3 separate regions of the Homo sapiens genome follow, and regions 2 and 3 are each linked to region 1. Evidence: promoter capture Hi-C in 16 types of primary human blood cells and fetal thymus (Javierre and others, 2016). All regions are on one chromosome and are shown on one strand. The core of a region is centred on a gene start or on the middle of the fragment in contact, and the rest is flanking DNA. Distances in the headings are between cores, read along the strand shown. Region 1 holds the start of RBM15B (RNA binding motif protein 15B). Region 2 overlaps MAPKAPK3 (MAPK activated protein kinase 3). Region 3 overlaps DOCK3 (dedicator of cytokinesis 3).

The links. Contacts are between HindIII fragments. The CHiCAGO score rates a contact against its expected background, and 5 or more counts as called.
Region 2: a contact is called between a fragment that was not itself captured here and the fragment with the promoter of RBM15B in region 1, in 9 of 17 cell types (M1 macrophages, M0 macrophages, megakaryocytes and 6 more). The highest score is 9.8, in M1 macrophages.
Region 3: a fragment that was not itself captured here is called in contact with the fragment with the promoter of RBM15B in region 1 in 3 of 17 cell types (naive CD8 T cells, activated CD4 T cells and M1 macrophages); the score reaches 8.6 in naive CD8 T cells.

Annotation. Positions count from the first base shown.
Region 1 is chr3:51,388,925-51,394,021 of GRCh38, forward strand. It overlaps RBM15B (RNA binding motif protein 15B), which reads left to right and starts at 2,361. Exons shown (of 1, transcript NM_013286.5): 1 at 2,361-5,097. The coding sequence starts at 2,476. It overlaps MANF (mesencephalic astrocyte derived neurotrophic factor), which reads left to right. Exons shown (of 4, transcript NM_006010.6): 4 at 1-473. The coding sequence ends at 165. RefSeq lists enhancers at 1,835-1,884, 3,870-4,375, 4,376-4,883 and silencers at 2,205-2,684, 2,725-2,804, 2,915-2,974. The HindIII fragment of the contact is 3,377 bases long and covers 1,422-4,798 here.
Region 2 is chr3:50,628,276-50,633,372 of GRCh38, forward strand. The region is part of intron 2 of MAPKAPK3 (MAPK activated protein kinase 3); the gene reads left to right. Among named protein-coding and RNA genes, the nearest start is that of MAPKAPK3, 14 kb to the left of the region's middle. The HindIII fragment of the contact is 2,368 bases long and covers 738-3,105 here.
Region 3 is chr3:50,676,537-50,681,633 of GRCh38, forward strand. All of the region lies in intron 1 of DOCK3 (dedicator of cytokinesis 3), which reads left to right. Among named protein-coding and RNA genes, the nearest start is that of MIR4787, 4.0 kb to the left of the region's middle. The HindIII fragment of the contact is 1,631 bases long and covers 1,793-3,423 here.

The DNA of each region.
Region 1 (5,097 bases), core at 1,111-3,610:
ACAGTGGACCTGAAGAAGCTCCGAGTTAAAGAGCTGAAGAAGATTCTGGATGACTGGGGGGAGACATGCAAAGGCTGTGCAGAAAAGTCTGACTACATCCGGAAGATAAATGAACTGATGCCTAAATATGCCCCCAAGGCAGCCAGTGCACGGACCGATTTGTAGTCTGCTCAATCTCTGTTGCACCTGAGGGGGAAAAAACAGTTCAACTGCTTACTCCCAAAACAGCCTTTTTGTAATTTATTTTTTAAGTGGGCTCCTGACAATACTGTATCAGATGTGAAGCCTGGAGCTTTCCTGATGATGCTGGCCCTACAGTACCCCCATGAGGGGATTCCCTTCCTTCTGTTGCTGGTGTACTCTAGGACTTCAAAGTGTGTCTGGGATTTTTTTATTAAAGAAAAAAAATTTCTAGCTGTCCTTGCAGAATTATAGTGAATACCAAAATGGGGTTTTGCCCCAGGAGGCTCCTACCAGTTTCTGCTTTCCAGTTGCAGAGTTTGGGGGGTTATTCATTCCCATTTATCTCTCAACCCACCAGTGCTGAAAATACCAGAGCAGGACATAGGGGCTGGGGCCAGCTGATGTGTGTGGGTGTGTACCACTAGAGGGCAGCAGGCACTCAGCAGAAAGGAGGTGGCGGGGGCGGGGGGTGCTGCGCTTGATACCCTGCCCCTTGATACAGTATCTGTCTTACCCGCCCAAGAGAGCTGGAGGCCACAGCTCTAGGAGGAGTGAGTCTGGGATACATTGGAGGGCCTTATATTGTGGCTCAGTACAAGCAAGACAGGGTGTCTGGAGTGTGGTTTTTCCACAAGGATATCTTCAATCAGTGCACGTCAGCACTGACATCTCTATAAAGATGCTGTTGGCCTGGCCACCTACTTGCTCTTTTGTCCATTCCAAGCCTCTGATGTCTGTTCCAGTTTTTGCAAGTCTGGCAGGAGTCAGCTTATACAAAGAGGGAGTGGGAAGCTGCCTTTTGCCTTTGTTTACCCTAGATTAGTCTAACAGTTGAGGTCCAGGGTTTTGCTGGAGTCTGCTTCTTAAGCCACTCTCTGTGGCACTGGTGCTTAGGAAACCCAGTTGTTAGTGTGAGCTGTGGCTCAATGAAGACACCTGTAGAAACCACCTGAAAGGACGGACTAAGAACCAGTGCTTTCCAAGTAATTGGTCTTGCCTCAGATCACTTCACTTGTGTCTCCTAAGCTCAGTTTGCCTGTAGGAGGCCTTGCTGCTGTGGAACCCATTGCTTTCTTCCAAGACCTTTCCCCCTGCACCTGCCTGAGCTACTCCAGGAGCTGCTTTCTCTTTGTGCGAAGAGGGCATGACTTGGTCTGCTCTTCCCCATCGCAAGGATTCTGTGCCAGAAATTGGGTCAGGTTCTACCATGGCTCCAGCAACTGTCCTTGGAGAATGAAAGCTTCCTCAATGGGCTTGAGCACCTGGGCACCCTTTCCCTCACCTCACCTGGGGAGAAGAGGTCGTCCTGAAGGTGATGAACAGGAGGGTACTGGCCAGCGAGGGGTCAGCGTGGCAAGGTGTGATAACTGCTGGCACTATCTGTGCATATGGCCTCTTCATCCTTGGCTCTTACGGCCCTACCTTTCCAGCCTGCTATCTGCCCACAGAAGAGGGTGGGACCCAAGAGTGGCGTTAAAGAGTCTATTCCAACTCCATCAACTGCAACTGCAGGCTTGTCTCTGCTTTCGGTTATTACCTGCGTGACAGCAATTGTCCTCACGGCCTTTTCGGGGACTGCTGCAGGTGAACCTGCACGTGGAGAATGCGCAGAATGTGGGCCTTGGGTCCTGGGCAGGGTCTAAGGATAGGCATGCATTAGTCCTTGGCGCCGTCAACGCCGGATCCCAGGCAGGAGATGCCAACGAGGGTGATGTGGGGTTTGCTCAAGCCTAGTCCTAGGACTGAGGGGATACTACATAAAGAGACCACTGACTGGGTCAATGCCCCAGATCCCAACGGCCATGGAAGCTGCCACTCCTGCTCCAATCAGCGCGGGCTCCAGTGCCTGCAAGAGGAGATAGCTGGACCCAGAGCGGCAAAGCACGGCTGGGAGCACAAAGCGTTAGGTCGTCTCGCCGGCCTCTCAGGGTTCACTACACTCCGCGTAGCCTCAAGCATCGGCCATGCGGGCCGCGCGGTGGCGCCAGAGCGCGCGGCCGGTCCCACTCACCCAGCACTCACAGGGTCACCTGGCACTGGGCGACGCAGCGCGATGAGGCAGGCCCGGCGCGGGTCTTGCTCCGCCCGCCGCAGAGTCACGTGGCAGGACGGCGCACCTTGATAACGCAATGCCCGGCCCCTCGGCGCCGCTCCCGCCCCGCCCCGCCGCCACCGCCGCGCCGAGTCCTTTTGTCCAAGATGGCGGCGCCGGGGGCGCTGCCTCCTCGGCCGCCGCCTCCGCCGCCGCCGCTGTGAGAAACCTACGGGCCGCCCGCCCGCCGCGCCAGCGCCATGAAGCGGCAGAGCGAGCGAGACTCTAGCCCGAGCGGGCGCGGCTCGTCATCGTCCGCCAAGCGTCCGCGGGAGCGCGAACGGGAGGCGGAGGCGGGCGGGCGGCGGGCGGCGCACAAGGCCTCTGGCGGCGCCAAGCACCCGGTTCCAGCGCGGGCCCGCGACAAACCCCGCGGCAGCGGAAGCGGCGGGGGCGGGCATCGCGACGGCCGCGGCACCGGGGACGCGAATCACCGCGCGAGTAGCGGGCGCTCCTCGGGCTCCGGCGCTGGCGGCGGGGGACGCGGCGGCAAGGCCTCGGGGGACCCGGGCGCCTCCGGCATGTCGCCCCGCGCGTCTCCTCTGCCGCCGCCTCCGCCACCGCCTGGGGCCGAGCCCGCGTGTCCCGGCTCATCCGCGGCCGCGCCTGAGTACAAGACGTTGCTCATCAGCAGCTTGAGCCCCGCGCTGCCCGCCGAGCACCTCGAGGACCGGCTCTTCCACCAGTTCAAGCGCTTCGGCGAGATCAGCCTCCGCCTGTCGCACACGCCTGAGCTGGGCCGTGTGGCCTACGTGAATTTCCGGCACCCACAGGACGCACGCGAGGCCCGCCAGCACGCCCTGGCCCGGCAGCTGCTGCTCTACGACCGCCCGCTCAAGGTAGAGCCCGTGTACCTGCGTGGCGGCGGCGGGAGCAGTCGGCGAAGTAGCAGCAGCAGCGCCGCCGCTTCCACGCCTCCCCCAGGGCCGCCCGCGCCCGCCGACCCGCTCGGCTACCTCCCGCTACACGGAGGCTACCAGTACAAGCAGCGCTCGCTGTCCCCCGTCGCTGCCCCGCCCCTGCGGGAGCCCCGTGCCCGTCACGCCGCCGCAGCCTTCGCCCTGGATGCCGCTGCTGCCGCCGCCGTGGGACTGTCCCGGGAGCGGGCCCTGGACTACTACGGGCTGTACGACGACCGTGGGCGCCCCTATGGCTACCCAGCTGTGTGTGAGGAGGACCTGATGCCCGAGGATGACCAGCGGGCCACGCGCAACCTCTTCATTGGTAACCTGGACCACAGCGTATCTGAGGTGGAGCTGCGAAGGGCCTTCGAGAAATATGGCATCATCGAGGAGGTGGTCATCAAGAGGCCTGCCCGTGGCCAGGGCGGTGCCTATGCCTTCCTCAAGTTCCAGAACCTGGACATGGCCCATAGGGCTAAGGTGGCCATGTCGGGCCGAGTGATTGGTCGCAACCCCATTAAGATAGGCTATGGCAAGGCCAACCCCACCACTCGTCTCTGGGTGGGTGGCCTGGGACCTAACACGTCACTGGCGGCTCTGGCCCGAGAGTTTGACCGCTTTGGGAGCATTCGGACCATTGATCACGTCAAAGGAGATAGCTTTGCCTATATTCAGTACGAGAGCTTGGACGCAGCCCAGGCCGCCTGTGCTAAAATGAGGGGTTTTCCCTTGGGTGGACCAGACCGCAGGCTCCGCGTGGATTTTGCCAAAGCAGAGGAGACTCGGTACCCCCAGCAGTACCAGCCCTCGCCACTCCCTGTGCATTATGAGCTGCTCACAGATGGATACACCCGGCACCGCAACCTGGACGCCGACCTGGTGCGGGACAGGACGCCCCCACACCTTCTGTACTCAGACCGAGACCGGACTTTTTTGGAAGGGGACTGGACCAGCCCCAGTAAAAGCTCTGACCGCCGAAACAGCCTTGAGGGCTACAGTCGCTCAGTGCGCAGCCGGAGTGGTGAGCGTTGGGGGGCAGATGGAGACCGTGGTTTGCCCAAGCCCTGGGAAGAGAGGCGGAAACGGAGAAGCCTTTCCAGTGACCGTGGGAGGACAACCCATTCACCATATGAGGAACGGAGTAGGACCAAGGGCAGTGGGCAGCAGTCAGAGCGGGGCTCCGACCGCACCCCTGAGCGCAGCCGCAAGGAGAACCACTCCAGTGAAGGGACCAAGGAGTCCAGCAGCAACTCCCTCAGCAACAGCAGACATGGGGCTGAGGAACGGGGCCACCACCACCACCACCACGAGGCTGCAGACTCTTCCCACGGGAAGAAGGCAAGAGACAGCGAGCGCAATCACCGGACCACAGAGGCCGAGCCCAAGCCTCTGGAAGAGCCAAAACACGAGACCAAAAAGCTGAAGAATCTTTCAGAGTACGCTCAGACACTACAGCTGGGTTGGAATGGGCTTCTGGTGTTGAAAAACAGCTGCTTCCCCACGTCTATGCATATCCTAGAGGGGGACCAGGGGGTGATCAGCAGTCTCCTCAAAGACCACACTTCTGGGAGCAAGCTGACCCAGCTGAAGATCGCCCAGCGCCTTCGACTGGACCAGCCCAAGCTTGACGAGGTCACACGACGCATCAAGCAGGGGAGCCCCAACGGCTATGCGGTCCTCTTAGCCACCCAGGCAACCCCCAGTGGGCTTGGCACTGAGGGGATGCCCACAGTAGAGCCCGGTCTGCAGAGGCGGCTTCTCAGGAACCTGGTCTCCTACTTGAAACAGAAGCAGGCCGCAGGGGTGATCAGCTTGCCAGTGGGGGGGTCCAAGGGCAGAGACGGCACAGGCATGCTCTACGCCTTCCCACCCTGCGACTTTTCCCAGCAGTACCTCCAGTCAGCACTAAGGACATTGGGC
Region 2 (5,097 bases), core at 672-3,171, 760 kb before region 1:
GGTGGTATGGCCCTTTGTTACCCTGTGTCAGCTATGTGGGCATCACTGCCACACAACTGGCCAGTTGGGGGCACATATTTCATTGCTGCTGTGGGGTCTCTTCATGAAGAGAGACCACTGATGGGACATTATTTCTGAGATTACAACAAAACACTTGTGTTTGCTAAAATGTTCCAGTCTTATGATGAAAATGTCCTATTTTTACACTGTCATAGAAGAAATAAAACCAGGGTAAAGTTTCACAGATTATGTAGCTGATTTTGATAGAAAAATCCCCTTTTCCTCTTTGAAGTTAAAGGAAGATACCAGAACCTGGATCTTCTGAGTATGTACTCAGGGGGCTCACAGGTGGTCTCTGTGGCCTCCCCCGGCCCTCTGTGGGAAGGCTGTGGGCAGAATCCTGGGATCCCACACCTGTCAGGGGCAGAGGGAGTTGTGATCCTGCCACTTTCTCACTGTAGAACCTCTGGGGGAGGGGAGGAGGCCATAGCTGTCTCAGGGCCTCTTTCCCCAGCTATAACACAGGAGCCATGTGGGAGGAGAGTGGGTGCCCAGTTCACAGATGCAAGCTGGGGCTTGGGAAGGTGAAAGGACTGGCCATGGTCACACATTTTGCAGGAGGGACATTGTTCAAAAGGATGCGCAGAGTTGTCGAGGGGTGTAAAGGTGTCTGCCACCTGGGAGAGTAGGGGGCTGCCACAAAGAAGTGAAGATGGGCCCCCTCCTATAGTTGACCAAGCTTGAGAGCTGGGTGAGTTCCCTGTTGTGGGTTTCTGTTCTTTCAGTCTTGGTTCCCATTCCCCAGGGTCGCTCCCCTAAGATCAGCCACCCTCTCTCCACCCTGGAGGGTCTTCCCCTTCCTTATTGAGCCTTTCACAGCAAAACAGGATTCGTGGACTCAAGGTTCTTGGTCCACCTTTGAAGAGCCCAGTCTGGCTGTGCCCCTCTGAGGATATGAGACCATTTCCTGTGACCTGCTGAATTGGAGAGGTTCTGCCTCCCCCAGGTCCCCAAGGCTGCACCTAGCTTTCCCTGAATTCTGGGAAACAAGGAGGGGAGGAGTGTAAGGCCATTTCAGGAAGACCCAGGGGAATCCTAAAGCCAGGGGTCCCCAAGCAAACCCAGGAACTGTTTTCACCCATACCATCATGGCCCCCAATACCTTCAGTGTGCACTGGACACCAAGTTCATCTGAGCTCTTTGTGTGTGCTCTCATTCCCTCCTTGTGGCTCCCTGGGAACAGGAGTATTAGCACTATCCCCACTTTCCAGATTGGGCCTGTGAGGCTCAGAGAGGCTGAATGGCCTGCCCAAGGCCACAGGGGAGTTGGGAATAGACCTGGACCCCTGTGGCTGCAGCTAGTCCTGCTGTGCATGGTCCCTGGTCTGGGGCACTGGGACCCTCTAGCACTCACGTTCCCACTGTTCTTCCCTCTTCCTTCCTGGGAGCCTCGCTCAGGTCCCTCTTTCTAGAAGCATTTCCCTCCACTCTTCCCATCCCCCAGACTTAGCATTTCAGCCTTTGTTTCCAGGTTGTCTGGGGCTGGTGGGAAGCAGACCAACTGAGGCCATCAAAATTTAGTAAATTGGAGGAATCTTGTCTTCCTAAGACTTGATGATTTCAAAATTTGTGTTGGCTATCCTGTCCCAGAGCTTCCTGGGAAGACACTAGGCTTGGAACCTCAGCTACTCCCTCCCCTCCCAAGAACTCTGGTGAGAAGTGGTCAGGTGGAGGTTCCCAGCCTGTCAAGCTGCCACCCTGCCCCCCATCAGGTGTCCTGGCCTTGGCCTAGAAGGGGAGTGGTTGTTTAGGGGTCCTCCTTTCTTGTGAGTTCCCTCAGAAGGGGCTGGCCTTCTCCATCTTGCCTGTTCTGCCAGGTTCTGGTTCTGGAAAGAAAGGAGAAGGGAAGGGAAGGAGCCAGGACCAGTTTCCCAGGTGTAGATGTCATCATCAAGCATCCCAGTTGGCAGTGACTCATCCATAGACCCCTAAATCCTTGAGGACAGAGTGCCCATGGCAGCATTCCCAGTCCCAGTCCAGGTCTAGCCCCCAGACAGGGCCAGTACATGTTTGCAGGAGTTGGGAGGGGATCTGTACATGGGCAGGCCTGTACAGTTGAATCCTGGTTCCCAAAGAACTCTGACTCAGTGGTGGCCATGTGCAAACCACGTGACCCAGAGAATCCACAAAGCCTCCCTGACCCTCAGTTTCCTCATCTGAAAATGGTGGCTAACAATGCAGTTGTTGAAGGGCAAGAGCTAATGGGTATGACATGCCTGGTACAGGGCGGGGCTCCGTGAACATCTGCCATTGTTGTAACAGCCACCGAGTAGCAGGGCCTGGTCCAGACCAGGGGCGTGGGCCAAGCTCTCGGAAGGAGTGGCAGGGCCTTCTCTGTTTGCTTTCCCCAGGCTGGTGTTGTGGGGATGAGTGCCTGCTCCAAGCCTTGAAGCTGCATGGAAAAGGGGTGAAGCAGCTATACATGGTCCCCAGTCTTGACTCTCACTGCCCAGCTGTGTGACTTTGGGCAAGTCACTTAACCTCCCAGAAGGACATTTCCCCACAGGTAGAAGGGCGCTGCTGATCCTTGTTGGGTTATGGTGACCACTGTGTGAGGTGGCCTCTGCACAGTACTGGCCCAGCACCAGGGACAGACTGTTGTCCTGTAGGGAGCGCTAATCCCACCTGACTCCATCATTCCCTCAGCACCTACCTGGGGCCTGGACGTTTGGGGTCAGTGGTATCATGTGAGCCGCCCTCCTTGGAACCGAGCCTCTGAGGAGGAGAGGTAAATGGACAGGGTGAGACAGAGGACAGGATGTGGTTGGAACTTAATGAAGCGAGGTCTCATCTGGCAGGAGGCCAACTCATCCATAGCTGCAAAATTGGTTCCATTACCTCCTTTAATGAGCTACGAAAGCTCGGAGAATGAGTTTGTGAGAGAATAATGGCACATGTCTGCAGCTCTGATTTGAAACTGTGGCTAAAAAGTTAGATATTACACTACCTTCCAGCTCTCCAAATAGCACCAGTGCCCTTGTCGGGAGGGAGAGGGAGGACATGGGGGGCAGGAGCGGGGTTCTGGCATTATAAGGAAGATGCTGAAGCTTTAAGAAGGAAAAGTCTGCTTCTGAACTCTGAATTCAGGGTCAATCCCATCCTGACGTCTTCCCTGCAGAGCAGAGGCTGAGGCTGTGACCCATTCTCTGAGTGGGCAAAGCAGCTCACAAGGGTCACACTGGCTGGCAGGGCCGTGTGTGTTAATAGCCCACACAGGTGCCAGCAGCACTGGCAGGGGTTTCAACAACTGGCTGTAAAATAAATTCTGCTATTCCAGTGGTGTCTCTTATATCATTTGAGATGTGATCCTCATGGGAAATAATCCCAAATAATCATACAACTGGGAGCTGGGAGAGATCTTAGAGATGGCTGAGTCGAAGACTTGTCAAGGAGGGAGTATGGTAGGTTCAAAGTGTTTTGTCTTATTCACGGCCTGCCTCTGTAAGAATAGGGGTTCCCAACAATGAAACCTAAATTTCCCTACAACATTCTCTACAGTTTTGCTGCCTGAGATTTCGTGTTGAGCACGTGCACTGAGATTTAATCTTCAGCATTCTGGCCTGCCTTTGCCTGAGGCTGGGATGAGACCCTTAGGTGGGACAGGTGTTGGAGGCCATGCTGGTCCCTGCTGCTCCTCTCCTATCTGTCCTCTGGCACAAAACAAAGCTGGAATCCCAAGAAAATAAAGGTCTGGTGATGTTACCTCAGCACTCCTGGCCCACATGCCAGGCGATAGCTGAGGCATATGTGCTGGCCTCAGTCTTCATGGAGGAATCCATATTAGATATGTTCATTTGAGTCTGTGTCTTTTGCAGAATTGCTGTTGAAGGTGTTGCCAGAAGGTTTTCTCCTATATAAGGTTTGATGTGAAATCCCTTTTAGAATTTCGTCCTAGAAAATGTTCAGTGAATATCTGTGCTCCTCTTCATGGGGGTAATAAAAGCAGCAGAGCCTAACTGGTTTCCTTCTTTGCAAGACTTCCAGGAAGCTCAGAATTATAATTTGTCCTCATTTATAGTTATGAACTTACATGGGTTTCTGGTGCATTTTGTCTTTTTCTTCATTCTAAAGAGAATCTGCTGTTTTTGTTTGGTTTGGCTTCTGTCTTGTTTTAGAATTATAAAATGTCTGAAATACTGTTGTTAATAAGCAGGGCTTGCAGAAATAATGGTGCTTGGAGGGCCTCAAGGGGTGGTGAGAGGAACTAGATCCTTGGCCTCCAGGAGGAAGTTCCCTTTGCTGTAGGGCTGATGTCTCTCATACTGTGAGTTGTCACAAAATCCAGAGCTTCAGCTTCTTAATTTATTACTGCCTCGTTGATGGGAGAGATAAGTCAGCTCTCTTACCCCGGAAACAGTGGGTGTTCTGGCAGAGGCCATACAACAGCCTGGCCGGGGCTGCAGGTTAATTGGCCAGGGGTATGGAGGTTGGGGTTTGGCTGCAAGAGGTGTTGGGGAAACTGCTTGTCCAAGCTGGTAGCCTCGGCGCTTCCTGTATGTGAGAGATGGAGATACTGTGGGCACTTTAACTTGAGAAGAGCCCAGCACTGGGGTGAGCTGGATGGGGACACCCATGTGTGGGTGGGTGGACCTGGATAGGGGGCCCTTCCTGGGCGAGGAAGTGGCTGGAGGAGGGTGTTGGGGACTGGTTCCCAAGAGTCACTGCAGACATCCCAGCTTTGTTCGATCTCTAAGAAGACAGACAGAGTGATTTTCTAGTTCTGGGCAACAAGAAATGTTAGGCCCTGCCATGGTGACCAGTGGGAGAGGAGGTCTGAATGGAGGCATCTGGGCTTGGTCACCTTCTTGCACAGGCTGTCTTAGGTTGAGTTGTAGCAATAAGACCCCCCAATGTTTCTTGGGCACCTCTCCGTGGCCAGTTCTCTGCTAGGTACTTTGGAGAAGTAGAAAATATTAGATGAACAAATGGACAGATGGATAAATCCTGTTCTCTGCGAGTTCAAAGTCAATATTGCAGAGACTGGAGACACACATATGCCCACGGGCCCACACACCCACCCCCATACTCCCCACACAC
Region 3 (5,097 bases), core at 1,358-3,857, 710 kb before region 1:
AGTATTCCCTGAATACTGAGTTGATTCTGTGAAGTGAGGAGTTGGTGGTTTATCTTCTCCATAACTCGCTCCCAGAACTGCTGAACTAGAATAACAAATAATTGATGTGAGTGGTCAACTCTCCAGTGGCACCCCATGATTGATTTTTTTGGAGGGGGGAGGAGCCCTATTTTGGCGGGGGTGGGGGCGTGGGGGGAGGAGCCCTTGAATAGTGGACAAAGTGGAATTCAGAGTCCTAGCTTCTCTTTACTGGTGGTGTGGGCAAGTAATTTAACATCATTTAACGTCATTTTATTAATGTATAAATTGGGGATAATGTTTACCTATCTTACAGGATTGTGAAAGTGAAATGAGAACGTGCTGAATGCTTAATAGTTTCTTCTTTTCCCTTAGTATTTAGACTAATAACACTAAGTGTGTTCTGAGACAGAGCCAGTGCAAGGTAATCAAGATAGGTACATGTGAATCTCAAAGCACTAGGATTTGGTGTGTGATTTTCCCAGCAAGATGCAACGAAATTCTTGCATTCCTAGGATTGTGTTTTTAGCTTTAGAAAAATTGTTATTCCCTTTGGAGGGCCACAGCATTGGGCTCAGGGCAGAGCTTAATGCTTGCTAAATGAGAGAGACAGTTACACTGAAGACATTTTCATAGCAGCTGTGGTTTAGCATAACTTAGATGCCTTTTCTACCAAACCAAGCAACTCTCTATTTATCTCACAGTCTTCCACTGTCCCTTCCTTAGTTATGATCTAAAAGTTTTTGTGTAAATTGTTTAAAACTCAGGACACATTTTTTTTCATAAGGATGTTAGGGCTACACTTCTAGAACTTTTCATAAAATCCACTTTATAAAGTAGCTTATACATTATACTTATGAGAAAAATAGTCAATTAAAACGGCATTTTTGCTGCATCATTTGATTGCTATGAGGGCTAGCTTGAAAATATAACCATTATCATTTTCCTGTGAGAAAATGTTTGAGTTTCAGCTTTGATTTTTATGACTAACTTGGAGCACAGATTTGTGTCTTTGTTTGTCAACCTATAATCACATAGCAAGGAGGGAAACCCCTTACACTTACTTCCTACCAATTTGGAGAAATTTGTGGAGGAGGGCCTCGAGGGCCTCCTTTTGCCCTGATGTTAGTGAGGGAAGGAGTCCCCTGTTGCAGCAGTACAAAGGGTTTTTTCCACTGCAGCTGTTCATTTGTATTTGACATTGATAAGGCTTTGAGATCCTGTAGTAATACTTATTAAATTTTTTATAATATAGGAATTCTGTACAGGTTATAACATGACTGAATTGTTTGGTTTATTCATTTAGGATGAGGTGATGACTGAGCCCCCCTTTCCATTGTAATATTCTGTGAGTGATTTTAGGCAGTGGGGAGGACATTATCCTTTCTGAGGGTCAGTGATAGGCCTGTCAGTGTGCCTGGGACTCTCACTTAGGTAACCCCATGTCGATTCCCAGAGTAGTCTTAATGTTATCATTATTACACAGATAAAGAAACTGGATCCCAAAGGTTGTTAATTTTTTTTTTTTTGTCCTTCAACGATTGTATATTTTTCTTAATTTTCTTCTTGGCAGTGGGCAGTATTTTGTGAAATACTTGACTGTCTTGCTTTCTTTTTGTGGTACTGTAAGGTACTGTTCTTTACTGTACCCGTTCGCCCGTGTTTTGACTTCTTATGTCCCTTTCCCTCTTAGAGAATCTCTGCTTTCCTTTCTGTTGCCATGAATGCTTGGAAAGTCCTGCATCCTTCCATTCTTTATTCTACCTTTCCAAGAAGCTTCCTGCTCTAAAGTGTATTAGGTGAGAAAAATCCAGCTATTTTTGTGAAACACCTGTCTTTCCCTATACTGACTGTACCCAGAGTACCAAATATAGAATACAAAAACCAAGAAAATGCTTTTCTCACCCTCTAACAGGAGCAACAGCAGGAGCAGCAAGCACCAACAGTTTTTAAAACAAAAATGTTTGTAATTACACTCCTTGAATAGAAAAGTGGTAAAGGTTTGAGTACATAGGTATTAGTTTGACGTCTTAGAAGTGGAAGCTGCTTCAGAAGGTCATCTTGTTTATTCTGCTGCTGTCATTAGGCAATTTTTTTTTTTTGAGAGGTGGGGTCCTGCTCTTGTCATCCAGGCTGGAGTGCAGCGGCATGATCATAGCTTACTGCAGCCTTGAACTCCTGGGCTCAAGCGATCCCCCTGCAGCAGTCTCCCAAGTAGCTGGGACTACAGGTGTTTACTACCTTGCCTGCCTAATTTTTTTTTTTCTTTTTTTGAGACGGAGTCTTGCTCTGTCGTCCAGGCTGGAGTGCAGTGGCGTGATCTCGGCTCACTGCAAGCTCTGCCTCCCAGGTTCATGCCATTCTCCTGCCTCAGCCTCCCGAGTAGCTGGGACTACAGGTGCCCGCCACCATGCCCGGCTAATTTTGTTTTTGTATTTTTAGTAGAGATGAGGTTTCACCATGTTAGCCAGGAGGGCCTCAATCTCCTGACCTTGTGATCCGCTCGCCTCGGCCTCCCGAAGTGCTGGGATTACAGGCATGAACCACTGCGCCCAGCCTTGCCTGGCTAATTTTTAAATTTTAATTAAAAAAAATTTTTTTTAGTGACATGGTCTTGCTATGTTGCCCAGGCTTGTCTCAAACTGCTGGCTTCAAGCTATCCTCCCACCTCAGCCTCCCAAGTCACTGGGATTATACCTGTGAGCCACTGTGCCCAGCTAAGGCAAATTTTTGAGTAATTTAGGGCATTTATTGCTTATTTTTTATTAATCCCTCTTAGTAGAACATGAAAAATTTTTCTCATTACCAATCTGAAGACCTTACATTTTAGTTTTGTAATGTTATATTTATTTTTTCCTATTTAAAAAGTAATGCGTATTTTATGCATTATTTTTACCTAACTTCCTTTTGGTTAGGTTTCTCCAGATAGGGAAGAAAAGCACTTAAAAACAAACAAACAAACAAACAAACAAATCCTGAGTCCTTAAAAGAAACTTGTAAAGATCCTGTGGTGCAGGAAAAGAATCTGAAGGTGGGGAGGAAATAGATCCTTGAAACCAGATCTGGAAGAATTAGTGTTCACAAAATTTGAGTAAATCTGTTGGTAAATGGACTAGAACTCACCAAAATAGTCTGAAGACAGTGTGCTCTTTAGTTATTTATTCAGTGAGGGAAGCCCAACCTTTGCAACCTCTGGAAGGGCCCCAATACCCCTTTAGAGGTAAAGACATCATCCACTAGGGGTAGGAAAGATTTCATAGACCTATGACTTTATTTTGTTCTGAAAAGTGAGGATGTGCTTGATGTCTTGTTTAGTGTTTATGGGGAACTTCCTTATTCATGATTCTACTTGAGCTTTACACTATATCACCACCTCTCCCCTCTTTTTTAAACAGATGAGAAAGAAGCTTTAGCTGAGAGAAATTAAGTAACTGATCTAAGATACTTTAGATAGTAAGTGCTGAGTTGAGATTTGAACCTAGGACTTTGAGATTCTAAGCCACAGATTGTATTATTACACCGTGTCCTCTGAAAGGAATTGTCAGTAGTATATGACTGTGGCTTGAAAGATAAGACATACTCTGCAGTTTTCAATTTAAACTGGATAGTTATATTTAAGGAATTTTATTTCTGTATTGGACTATTTTTTTCTTTTTCTTTCTTTTTTTTTTTTTTTAGACAGAGTCTTGCCGTGATGCCCAGGTTGGAGTGCAATGGGGTGATCTCGGCTCACTGCAACCTTCGCTTCCTGGGTTCAAGCGATTCTTCTGTCTCAGCCTTCTGAGTAGCTGGGATTACAGGTGTGCGCCGCCACACCTGGCTAATTCTTTTCTATTTTTAGTAGAGACGGGGTTTCACCATATTGGCCAGGCCGGTCTCGAGCTCCTGACCTCAAGTGATCTGCCCGTCTTGACCTCTCAAAGTGCTGGGATTACAGGCATGAGCCACCGTGCCCTGCTTTTTTTTTTTTTTTTTTTTTTTTAAGACGAGGTCTTGCTATGTCACCCAGGCTTGTGTGCTATGGCATGATCGTAGCTCATGGTAACCTTGAACTCCTGGGCTCAAGCCATCCTCTCCAGTAGCTAGGACAACAGGTCCATGCCACCATGCCCAGCGAATTTTTAATTTTTTTTTTTTATAGAGACTGGGTCTTGCTATTTTACTCAGGCTGGTCTTGAGCTCCTGGCCTCAAGAGACCCTCCCTCCTGGGGAGTGGCGGGTTTACAGGTATGAGCCACTGTGCCCAGCCTGTTGCCTACTTTTTAATGGGATTATTTGGTTTTGCTGCTGAGTTCCTTGTATATTCTGTATATTAGTCCCTTATCAGATAAATAGTTTGCAAATATTTTCTCCCATTCTGTAGATTGTCTCTTTACTCTTTTTCCTTTGCTGTGCAGAAGCTTTTAGTTTAATGTAGCCCCATTTGTCTATTTTTGTTTTTGTGGCCTGTGCTTTTGAGGTCTTAGTCATAAAATCTTTGCCTAGACCAATGTCCTGAAGCATTTTCCCTATGTTTTCTTTTAGTAGGTTTATAGTTTTGGGTCTTATGTTTAAGTTTTTAATCATCTTAAGTCTATTCAGTAGACTTCAGATTTCTAGTTCGTTTTATCATGCAGTATTAGAATATGATTTAGAAACATTAAGCTAAATTGTAAACATGGCACCTATTTCTGTGTAGTATTAGATGCATTCTGAAGCAGGGCAGTCTCAAAAGAATGGTCATTGAGGTTGAAAGTACTTTAACCTTCATAGCATATTTTTACATTGGTGCTAAATTTTAATTTTTAATAGTTTGTATTTTGAATTTTTTAAAATTTTTGTGTCTTTATTCTTTAAGAATGATCTGAAATTATTCCCAACATGTAAGCATTATTGGGTATGCTATATTAGGATTTTAATTCCAATGTTATGCTTTTATTGTAATGAACAAGCCAAACCTGTTTATGATTATGCATTTAATTGTTTTGCATACCCCCTTTTGACAGCTTTTGCAGGGAGAAGCAAGCATTTTTTTCACATAAAGGCTCTTAAAACCTTAAATTTTTTTTATACATCACCAAATTATTTTAGCTAAGTACT